Regions from separate parts of the Homo sapiens genome. Here regions 1 and 3 are each linked to region 2. Evidence: promoter capture Hi-C in 16 types of primary human blood cells and fetal thymus (Javierre and others, 2016). All regions are on one chromosome and are shown on one strand. The core of a region is centred on a gene start or on the middle of the fragment in contact, and the rest is flanking DNA. Distances in the headings are between cores, read along the strand shown.

Region 1 (2,700 bases), core at 88-2,587, 1.3 Mb after region 2:
TAAAAAGAAAACAGCTCATTAACATTGTCCTTTTCTTTCTTTTCTTTTCTTTTTTTTTTTTTTTTTTTAATTTTGCGGACCCACCAAAGAATGCAGCCCTTCTTTTCTCATGGTCATAAAAATATCACATTCGGTTGGGCGCGGTGGCTCATGCCTGTAATCTCAGCACTTTGGGAGGCCGAGGCGGGCGGATCACTTGAGGTCAGGAGTTTGAGACCAGCCTGGCCAATATGGTGAAACTCCGTCTCCAACTAAAAATACAAAAATTATCCGGGTGTAGTGTTACACACCTGTAGTCCCAGCTGCTCGGGAGCCTGAGGCACAAGAATCGAGGTGGAGGTTGCAGTGAGCGAGATCGCACCATTGCACCCCAGCCTGGACAACAGAGTGAGACTCCGTCTCAAAAACAAACAAACAAAAACAAACACATCACATTCTTATTAGTCATTTGAGGGAACCTGGAGCAATATGATCTGAGAGGCTAGGCTTGGCTAATCCCTAGAAAAAGTAGTAATACATCTAAGAAAGAAATCCCTCTTAGGGAACACCCGAGGCTGCCAGGTGACACAACAAAACTTTCTCATAAAAGCGTTTGATTAATCCGATTAACTTGTAAGCAAGCCATGTGGCAGAGGTAAGAGGCCAAACACCAAGGCACCAGTCCTGATTCTAAACAAGTGCTGGTCCATTTCTTAACTTTGGGATCCATTTTTTCTTTGTGATGGAATAGCAAAAGGTCAAAGTGGAGGAGGACTCAGCCCTTGGGTGTCTCCTCAACGAGGGTTTCTCGAAGGTAAATTGGGGAGGAAGGGAGAGCCCACGGCAGGTCAGTCCAACCTGCCAGTCACCACCTCTTTAAGGCCACAGCCCTGCGGGAGCAATCCTTTCAAATCCCCTTCCTTCCTTCTTTTAGAACGCCCCTAGAACGCCGATTAGGACTTCTCATCCCGGTCGGGCCTGCGGCTCTCTGTGACCCCACCTCTGGATTCAGCTTTTCCCAGGGATTCACACTCGGAGCTCAGGAGAGATGCTGCGATTACTCTGGAGACGGGAAGACAGGCGGGGCTGACGGGGCCCAAGGCCCCTAATCATGACCGGGGCCAGCTGGCAGGAGGGTCCTAAGTATACGGAGGGCGGCGGGACCCCCCCCACCACGCCCCTCATTTTCCGGGGTAGCGCACAAAGTCTGTGAGGCACTTACCCGAGTCTCGTGGCCGTCCGAGGGGCGCGGGAATCCCAGCTGAGGCCCGTGACGCGCCGGAGCCCTAGGCGTGGGCAGGGCCAGCACCAGCCCTAAGACAGAGAAGACGAGCGGAGCCCGGCTCCGCCAGGAACAGGAAGGCGAGGGAAGGTGAGGATGCGCTTCCGGGGCTGCAGGCGGGGAGCCGCCCCGAGTCCAAGCCGGAGAGAGCTGGTTCTCCCCCTGGCGATACGTGTGTGAGCCTCTGAGGCCCGCCCTAAGCACTGCTGCCCCGATCTAGCAAGACAAGAAGACAGGAAATTTATGACAGCCTGAAAAAGTCTTTAAAAGATACACACTGGAAGAATTTCGTAGTAAGATGAGGAAAAAAAAACGTGTTTCCGCCCGGTTTCGAACCGGGGACCTTTCGCGTGTGAGGCGAACGTGATAACCACTACACTACGGAAACCCACTAAGGGCTTATTTTTCAGAGTAAATAGTTCTTCCTGCCTAGTTCCGTGTTTCTTCGTTCCAAGTGCGTGTTTTGCTGATGTGCGCGTGCGTCTCTGTACCGACCTCTCAAACCAGAAAAACCAATGAAAAGCTCAGACCCAGCCCCTCCAGTGTTCAAACTGAAGCCATAGAATTTATTCTACAAATGACTGAATAGGGAAGAACACAATAGAGACTTTAATTTAATCTCTGAACGGTCCTTCGTTCTTCGGCCAAAATGGCCAGGCAAGGCTGGGCACAACTTGGGTAGGGCGAGCGTTTCTCTGGCGTAGTTGGCGTTACCACGTGGTCAGTGGCAGAATGCTCCGCAAAGAAATGATAACCCCATATGTTGTCGGGAGCTGCCCCTCTTGCTTCTGAGTCTTCCAGGCAAATTTATCTTGCAGGAATTTCCTTACTCCTGCGGAGTCAGAAAGTTGTAAAACGACCCTGCTTACACCGAGCCAGCCAGGAGTCGAACCTGGAATCTTCTGATCCGTAGTCAGACGCGTTATCCATTGCGCCACTGGCCCTGCGCGTACCTTAGGGGCGAGGTATTTCATAAGAAACTAGGTTGTACCCGTAATATCTGGGTGAACGCCTGTAAGCCGCGTTTGCCCGCTGGTCCAGGCTCGCAGCGCATGGACTCTCTGGTAGCTACTTCTGCACACGCCCCGTGGCCTTCATTCCTTTCTCGGTCTGTCTCTGCCGGCTGAAAAATGGCGGTGAAAAGCAAGCCCTGCATCCTCTCTGCCCCAATATCACCGCTCCATTAATGCGTTCGTTCATTCAACCAGTATTAGTGTTCAAGGCACTGCAGATAACGGTGAAGAAAACATGAGAGACCCTTGCCCTCAAGATTACATGGCAGTGGCGGAAGCGGATAATAAAGCATTAAATAAACAAAATAATAGTGATAAGCGATTGGAGAAAAATAATAATAAAACAGGGAAAGAGGATAGGAAAGGCCAGCAGTGAAAGTGATGAATGAGGGATAAATGCTGATATCGGGGAAATGAGTGATCTGG
Region 2 (2,700 bases), core at 129-2,628:
CGTTACTGGAGATATGCGAGTAAACAAAAGTTCCTCCTCTCATGAGCCTGTATTTTAGAACACACAAGCAATACATCAGCAAACTCTGGTACAGCATATAGTGACAAATTCTAGGGTGAAAAAAATAGGTGGGGATTATACAGATTTTATTTAGTCATACAAAGCCTCATTGAGAAAGTAACATTTAAGCAAAGACTCAAGTATTTTATCCTGTGCTCAAAAAAACTACCACAGGCTTACCTACAAGGCAGTCTTATTTTGAATACTCCTGACAGTTCAGAGTTTTAGCCACTGTCAGCAGAAGTCAGAGAAAACACTTTCTCTCCCACACGTATTTTTACATGGGGCTTCAAAGGGAATGTTCTCTGGCGGGCTTTCTCCAGAAGACTTTTAAACCTCAAACCATCTGTCATTAACTACATTTAAGTGGTTTAAGCAGGCCCAAAATCCGGCTTGAAAAAATTCAAAGAAAACTTAACACTGCTTAGGAACGGGGGGCGGGGAGAGAACGTTTCACTTTAGCCAGCATGAGCTACATTAACCTGAATTTTTCCAACTTCAGTACAACCTTAGTTTTATTTCTGGCGTGTTGGCAAGAAATATACACACACCACAGTACAGGTTAGCAGAAAATTAGAAGCACCATCCGGTCAAAACCGGGCTGCGGAGATGGGAGAGCAATACACGAAGGAACTTTTGGCTACACTCAATGCTTACGGAAAAATGCCGGACATTATTAGATGTTAAGACTCCCAAAATTAGCATTCAAAAAGGGATAGGCTGAGTCTTACGAAACAGATTGTATAACGTCTGGAAATGGGCCCTATCTACTACAGGCAAAACAAGTACCAGGAAGAATTCCTGAGAGAAACAGATCTTTTCAGCGCGCATGTGGGTGGCTCTGAAAAGAGCCTTTGGGTATGTAATCAGTGAGTCCTTGAGACTCAAGCCCTCTCGCCGCGGATACGACGTGCGAGCTGGATGTCCTTGGGCATGATAGTCACCCGCTTGGCGTGGATGGCGCACAGGTTGGTGTCCTCAAAGAGCCCCACCAGGTAGGCCTCGCATGCCTCTTGCAGCGCCATCACCGCGGAGCTCTGGAAGCGCAAGTCGGTCTTGAAGTCCTGCGCGATCTCACGCACCAGACGCTGAAAAGGCAGCTTTCTGATCAGCAGCTCGGTGGACTTCTGGTAGCGGCGAATCTCGCGGAGAGCCACTGTACCAGGCCGATAGCGATGGGGCTTCTTGACACCGCCGGTGGCCGGAGCGCTCTTCCGAGCCGCCTTGGTGGCCAGCTGCTTGCGCGGAGCCTTGCCGCCGGTGGACTTGCGAGCAGTCTGCTTCGTACGCGCCATGCCTTCAGAGCTAGATTCACTTCAGGAGAAAGAGAAAGCTAGCCGCTTATTTATAGTGAGAGTCTGAAGCTGATTGGACAAAAGTATGCTGAAGGCCTACCCAACAGTAACCGGATTGGCGAAGGACTCAAATTTTTGTTGTTCACCTATTCCTCTGACAGACTTAGCAGTTCATGGTCTCCATATTTTATTTTCTATTTTCGCTATACAGTTGTTCACTATACTAGCGATTTCCAGTGGAAATGAGAGCAATATAAGTAATTTACACTTATCTAGGAGAACATTGTAACAAAACAAGGAAAAATTAATTTTTAATATTTTGCTTAATCCAATATAGCCAACATATTTCAATGTTATCGAAATTAAAATTGTTAGGTATTTTACACTTTTTGGCACTGACTTTTCCAAATGCAATGTGTATTTTATATAAAATTCATGCTATGGAATTTCCAATGATCACTATCCACAATTGGCTAGTGGCTGCAATACTGGACAGGACAGCCTTATACACCTGTCCCCTCAATTTTCTATCTTTTGACCACTTAAATTTAAAAAACTTCTATTTTTATAACCAAGAAAAGCTGGTTCGCATGTGAGAAATTCAAGGCCAAAAAATGTCAAAGAAACAACTTTATGTGAACTTTTCACTTTTAGATTAAAGTAATTCCATTGCAGCTTATTTTTCCAATACTCTAGAAATGTAATTCATTTTCTTTTAAGAATCTATTCCATTCGTACATCCAGATCTGATTCAGATTAAAAACATCAAGTCAGATATTTTAAAAGTGGAATTTACCATGCTGAAACAAATTAAGTCATCTCTGTACTAAGAAATCAATTTGTGTGGCTGGGGGTGGGAAAGCTCGGGAAATTTTAATTTCAATGAATTTTCAGAAAATGCTTCAAAGAGAACTACCTGGCACCATAAGTAACTGTTCTAATTAGTCTAATAATTATTCTCAACTCAATCATTAATGTTCAAATGCAATTAATTATACAGATTCGAGAGATATTTCTCAGAAATGAAGAATCCAAGTCGTTGATCTAGATTTGGATTGAACGTCGAATGCCCGGTTTGTTATTTACCAAGACCCAGAAAACATCTGGCCCCAAAGCAGACATGTTTGCTTCAACAGACTAAAAGTAAAACCCGACGGTGAACCATACAGAATTCAACATACTTGGATAATGCCAGCTTAGGAAAAACTAAATTTTCTTCCACTAAGCTTAAGATGAAGGCGTGTTTAATACTTTTAATGTTATCCAGGCTTTTTATAAAGCTAACGAGATTGTCACTACCTAACCAAGACACCGAAGACTGATCTACGTAACCTTTGGAGTGGTT
Region 3 (2,700 bases), core at 135-2,634, 1.3 Mb after region 2:
GGATGGCATAGAGCTCTCTGCACCTCCCCCTCCTCTCTCCTCCCCTGAACTACTGCACAAACACAATGAGTATTACTCAACAGGTGATTTGGCCATTCCCCCCAAAAAACAACATTTCTATGAATTGTAACAAAAAGATATTTACAAAATGTGGTTTTACTACCTCTAATTTTAACATATATCAGACACTTCAGAATATCTAAAAAGAATAGACATTTCAAAAAAGCTTAGCATTGTCAACTACATACATAGTAGTGAGGAAGCGAATGCACACAAAACAATGGATAGAATATGAAAATGTCTTCTAAATATGACCAGTCTAGCATAGAACCTTCTTTTTTTCCTTCTCAGGTCTTCGAGCTCCATGTCATCTAACCCACTGAACAAACGTGAACGTATCGCTTCTAGAGGCCGTCTAACAACTCAGTTTCCAAAAGTCAACTCCGGAAGACATGTATTTTCTATGATTTCTTTTAAACAAATGAGAATTTACAAGATGTGTGACTTTCTAACTCTATCATACGTCGGCAACCTCTTTCCATCTAGAAGGGCTAGATGTGACAAATGTTTTCTATTAAAAGGTTGGGGTGGAGTTGAGAGCAGCTTTTTCATATTATATACACAGGCCTTCCGTAAACGGCCTGTGAATCTTCCCAGAGGATGGAGGGCATTTCCAACGGGCCAAACGTGGCCTGTCATTCTACCATTTGTCTCTTCCGACAGCAAGGTCTGGTAGTACGGAGACCAACCGCCCGATCGCCGCTAACCGTTCCACCCGTCGTCGTTCGGGACTTCGCTCACCTCCCAGGCCCGTTAAGGCCTTTGTCCGTTGTCGTTAGGACTAGGTAGGTCTCGCCCAATGGCGACAGAGTGGTCACCCGGGACCCAGATCTGGCGGCTCCGTGGCCTGAAGAGGCGGCCGAGCCTGCCTGCGTCCCTAGGCCGCCTTCCCGGGCCCTCCATGCCCTAACGCCCTCCGCCGCGCGGCGTTCGAGCGGCCGCCATGCTTCCCGGCACGCTACTCCCGCCGCCACCCAAAGGCGCTGCGTCCAGGCTGCTCGGCGGGGGTTTCGTCCAGGCCCGGCAGGCTTGGGCCGGGAGACCCGACGGCCGGCAGGGTCCGGACTGGGAGAGGCCGCCGCCGCCATCAGTCACCGAGGTAGGGTAGGGAAGAGACGTTCGCCACCGCTTCAAGGCCTGGGCCCAGCCAGTGGGCAGCCACAGCAGAGGCCTCCGGTATCTGCAGGGCAGAGGGCGCGGCCTGTCCCGGGGCGCCCCCTAGCTCACCCGCCGACCCGGGGCCGGAGGGCCTGGAGCGCCCTGGAGGAGCGGCCCGCGCTCTGCGTCTCTCCGCGCTCTCTGCCAGACCGGAACTCTTGCAGTGATTTCTTACGGGGAGTAAGGATGAGGTGGGGAATGAGACTGAAGAAATGGAATTAAAAAGATAACTATAACTAAATAAAGAGGAGCCCTGCAGTAATGTAATGAGCCATGAACTGAAGAGTAACATTTATTCAACTCTGCCTGTGAAGGAGGGAGAGGGAAAGACAACTAGAGACAGAGGAGAAACGGAAAAAGGAGGTGAGATTTCAAAACACCGGTAGGTTCTGAAATTATTTTCGGAGTACAGAGTACTTTTTGCTGTCCTTGGAGTGGCTAATAAAAACAAAGAGTGCTTTTATTCCGGAACTCGGAAAATTTATTTTTTAAAAAGAGAGAAGACCATGTCACAAAGAGCAGGTAGGAAAACGTAGCGTAAACTTAAACTCGATTTGTGTCTAAATACTAAAAGTACGAACTGTCAGGAGTGGGATTCGAACCCACGCCTCCAGGGGAGACTGCGACCTGAACGCAGCGCCTTAGACCGCTCGGCCATCCTGACGCGCTTATGCTACATTGTGCTCAGGACTCACTTCTGTCTCTTGTCTAAACGCTATTAGTTCCCCATCCACCAGCCGCCCCCCTACCCCATGTCCCCACCCCCGCCCACCCCCTTGTTGTTCTTTTTCTCAAGATATGGGCATTCCTGGGTTAAAAGGTAAGCCGCCTCTCCGCGAACTGCCTCGGACGGCGCTGCATAGGACCGGTTGTCCGGGCCACAGAGCGGCGTCTCCCGAGTGAACGCCGAGTCACTCCCAGGCTGCGCGGGGAGGGCTGCGGCGGGTGGGGCGGCGGGCGAGGGAGGGCGGGTCGGGGTAGGGGGAGCGGGACGGGGGCGGGGGCGTGGGAGGGGCGGGGCGGGCGTGGGAGGGGCGGGGAGGGGGCGGGGCGGGCGTGAGCCAGCCCAGGGCCGAGTGACTAAGGCGGAAGACGGCGATGGCGCTCTGCTCTCAACTGAATTCTAGTTAAAATAATGGCAATCCTGTTGAACTCAACATTACTAGAATACCTGGCTTAAATTTACACTTAATTCCCAGGAAGTTTTAGGCTTGCTCCAGTTTTTGCTGGAACAAGGTGCTCGCTAATCCTTCTCCTTTGCGTTGTGCTGCAAATCTCCCAGCACGTGGTTACCCTTGGCAGGGCCGGTGGAGGGGACAGGAGCGTGGGAAGCCTGGCTTGTCTTGCCTCTCTGTCGGAGTTTATGGAGGATTTGCGCACTTTTCGGTGTGGATGTTATACTGTAATAAAAACTTTAAAAAGCAAAAGCAAAAACAGCAACAACAAAAATGGGGAGTAGCTTATGTATTTTACTAAACCTGG

What was found. Contacts are between HindIII fragments. The CHiCAGO score rates a contact against its expected background, and 5 or more counts as called.
Region 1: a contact is called between the fragment with the promoter of HMGN4 here and the fragment with the promoter of H3C10 in region 2, in 9 of 17 cell types (non-activated CD4 T cells, monocytes, activated CD4 T cells and 6 more). The highest score is 9.5, in non-activated CD4 T cells.
Region 3: a contact is called between the fragment with the promoter of HCG11 here and the fragment with the promoter of H3C10 in region 2, in 5 of 17 cell types (monocytes, naive CD8 T cells, M1 macrophages and 2 more). The highest score is 10.5, in monocytes.

The regions. Positions count from the first base shown.
Region 1 is chr6:26,537,003-26,539,702 of GRCh38, reverse strand. It overlaps HMGN4 (high mobility group nucleosomal binding domain 4), which reads right to left and starts at 1,337. Exons shown (of 2, transcript NM_006353.3): 1 at 1,202-1,337. It overlaps TRR-ACG1-2 (tRNA-Arg (anticodon ACG) 1-2), which reads right to left and starts at 2,205; the gene lies at 2,133-2,205. TRV-CAC1-6 (tRNA-Val (anticodon CAC) 1-6) reads right to left here and starts at 1,649; the gene lies at 1,577-1,649. RefSeq lists enhancers at 717-1,126, 2,387-2,700 and silencers at 1,617-1,666, 2,060-2,353. The HindIII fragment of the contact is 7,010 bases long and covers 1-2,700 here.
Region 2 is chr6:27,808,729-27,811,428 of GRCh38, reverse strand. It overlaps H3C10 (H3 clustered histone 10), which reads right to left and starts at 1,378. Exons shown (of 1, transcript NM_003536.3): 1 at 893-1,378. The coding sequence starts at 1,355. The coding sequence ends at 945. RefSeq lists enhancers at 369-1,040, 1,135-1,424, 1,041-1,712, 2,396-2,700. The HindIII fragment of the contact is 5,605 bases long and covers 1-2,583 here.
Region 3 is chr6:26,520,390-26,523,089 of GRCh38, reverse strand. HCG11 (HLA complex group 11) reads right to left here and starts at 1,384. Exons shown (of 1, transcript NR_026790.1): 1 at 1-1,384. It overlaps TRL-CAG1-7 (tRNA-Leu (anticodon CAG) 1-7), which reads right to left and starts at 1,882; the gene lies at 1,800-1,882. LOC107986583 (a long non-coding RNA gene) reads left to right here. Exons shown (of 4, transcript XR_001744057.3): 1 at 1-1,581. RefSeq lists silencers at 929-1,448, 1,679-2,278. The HindIII fragment of the contact is 10,867 bases long and covers 229-2,700 here.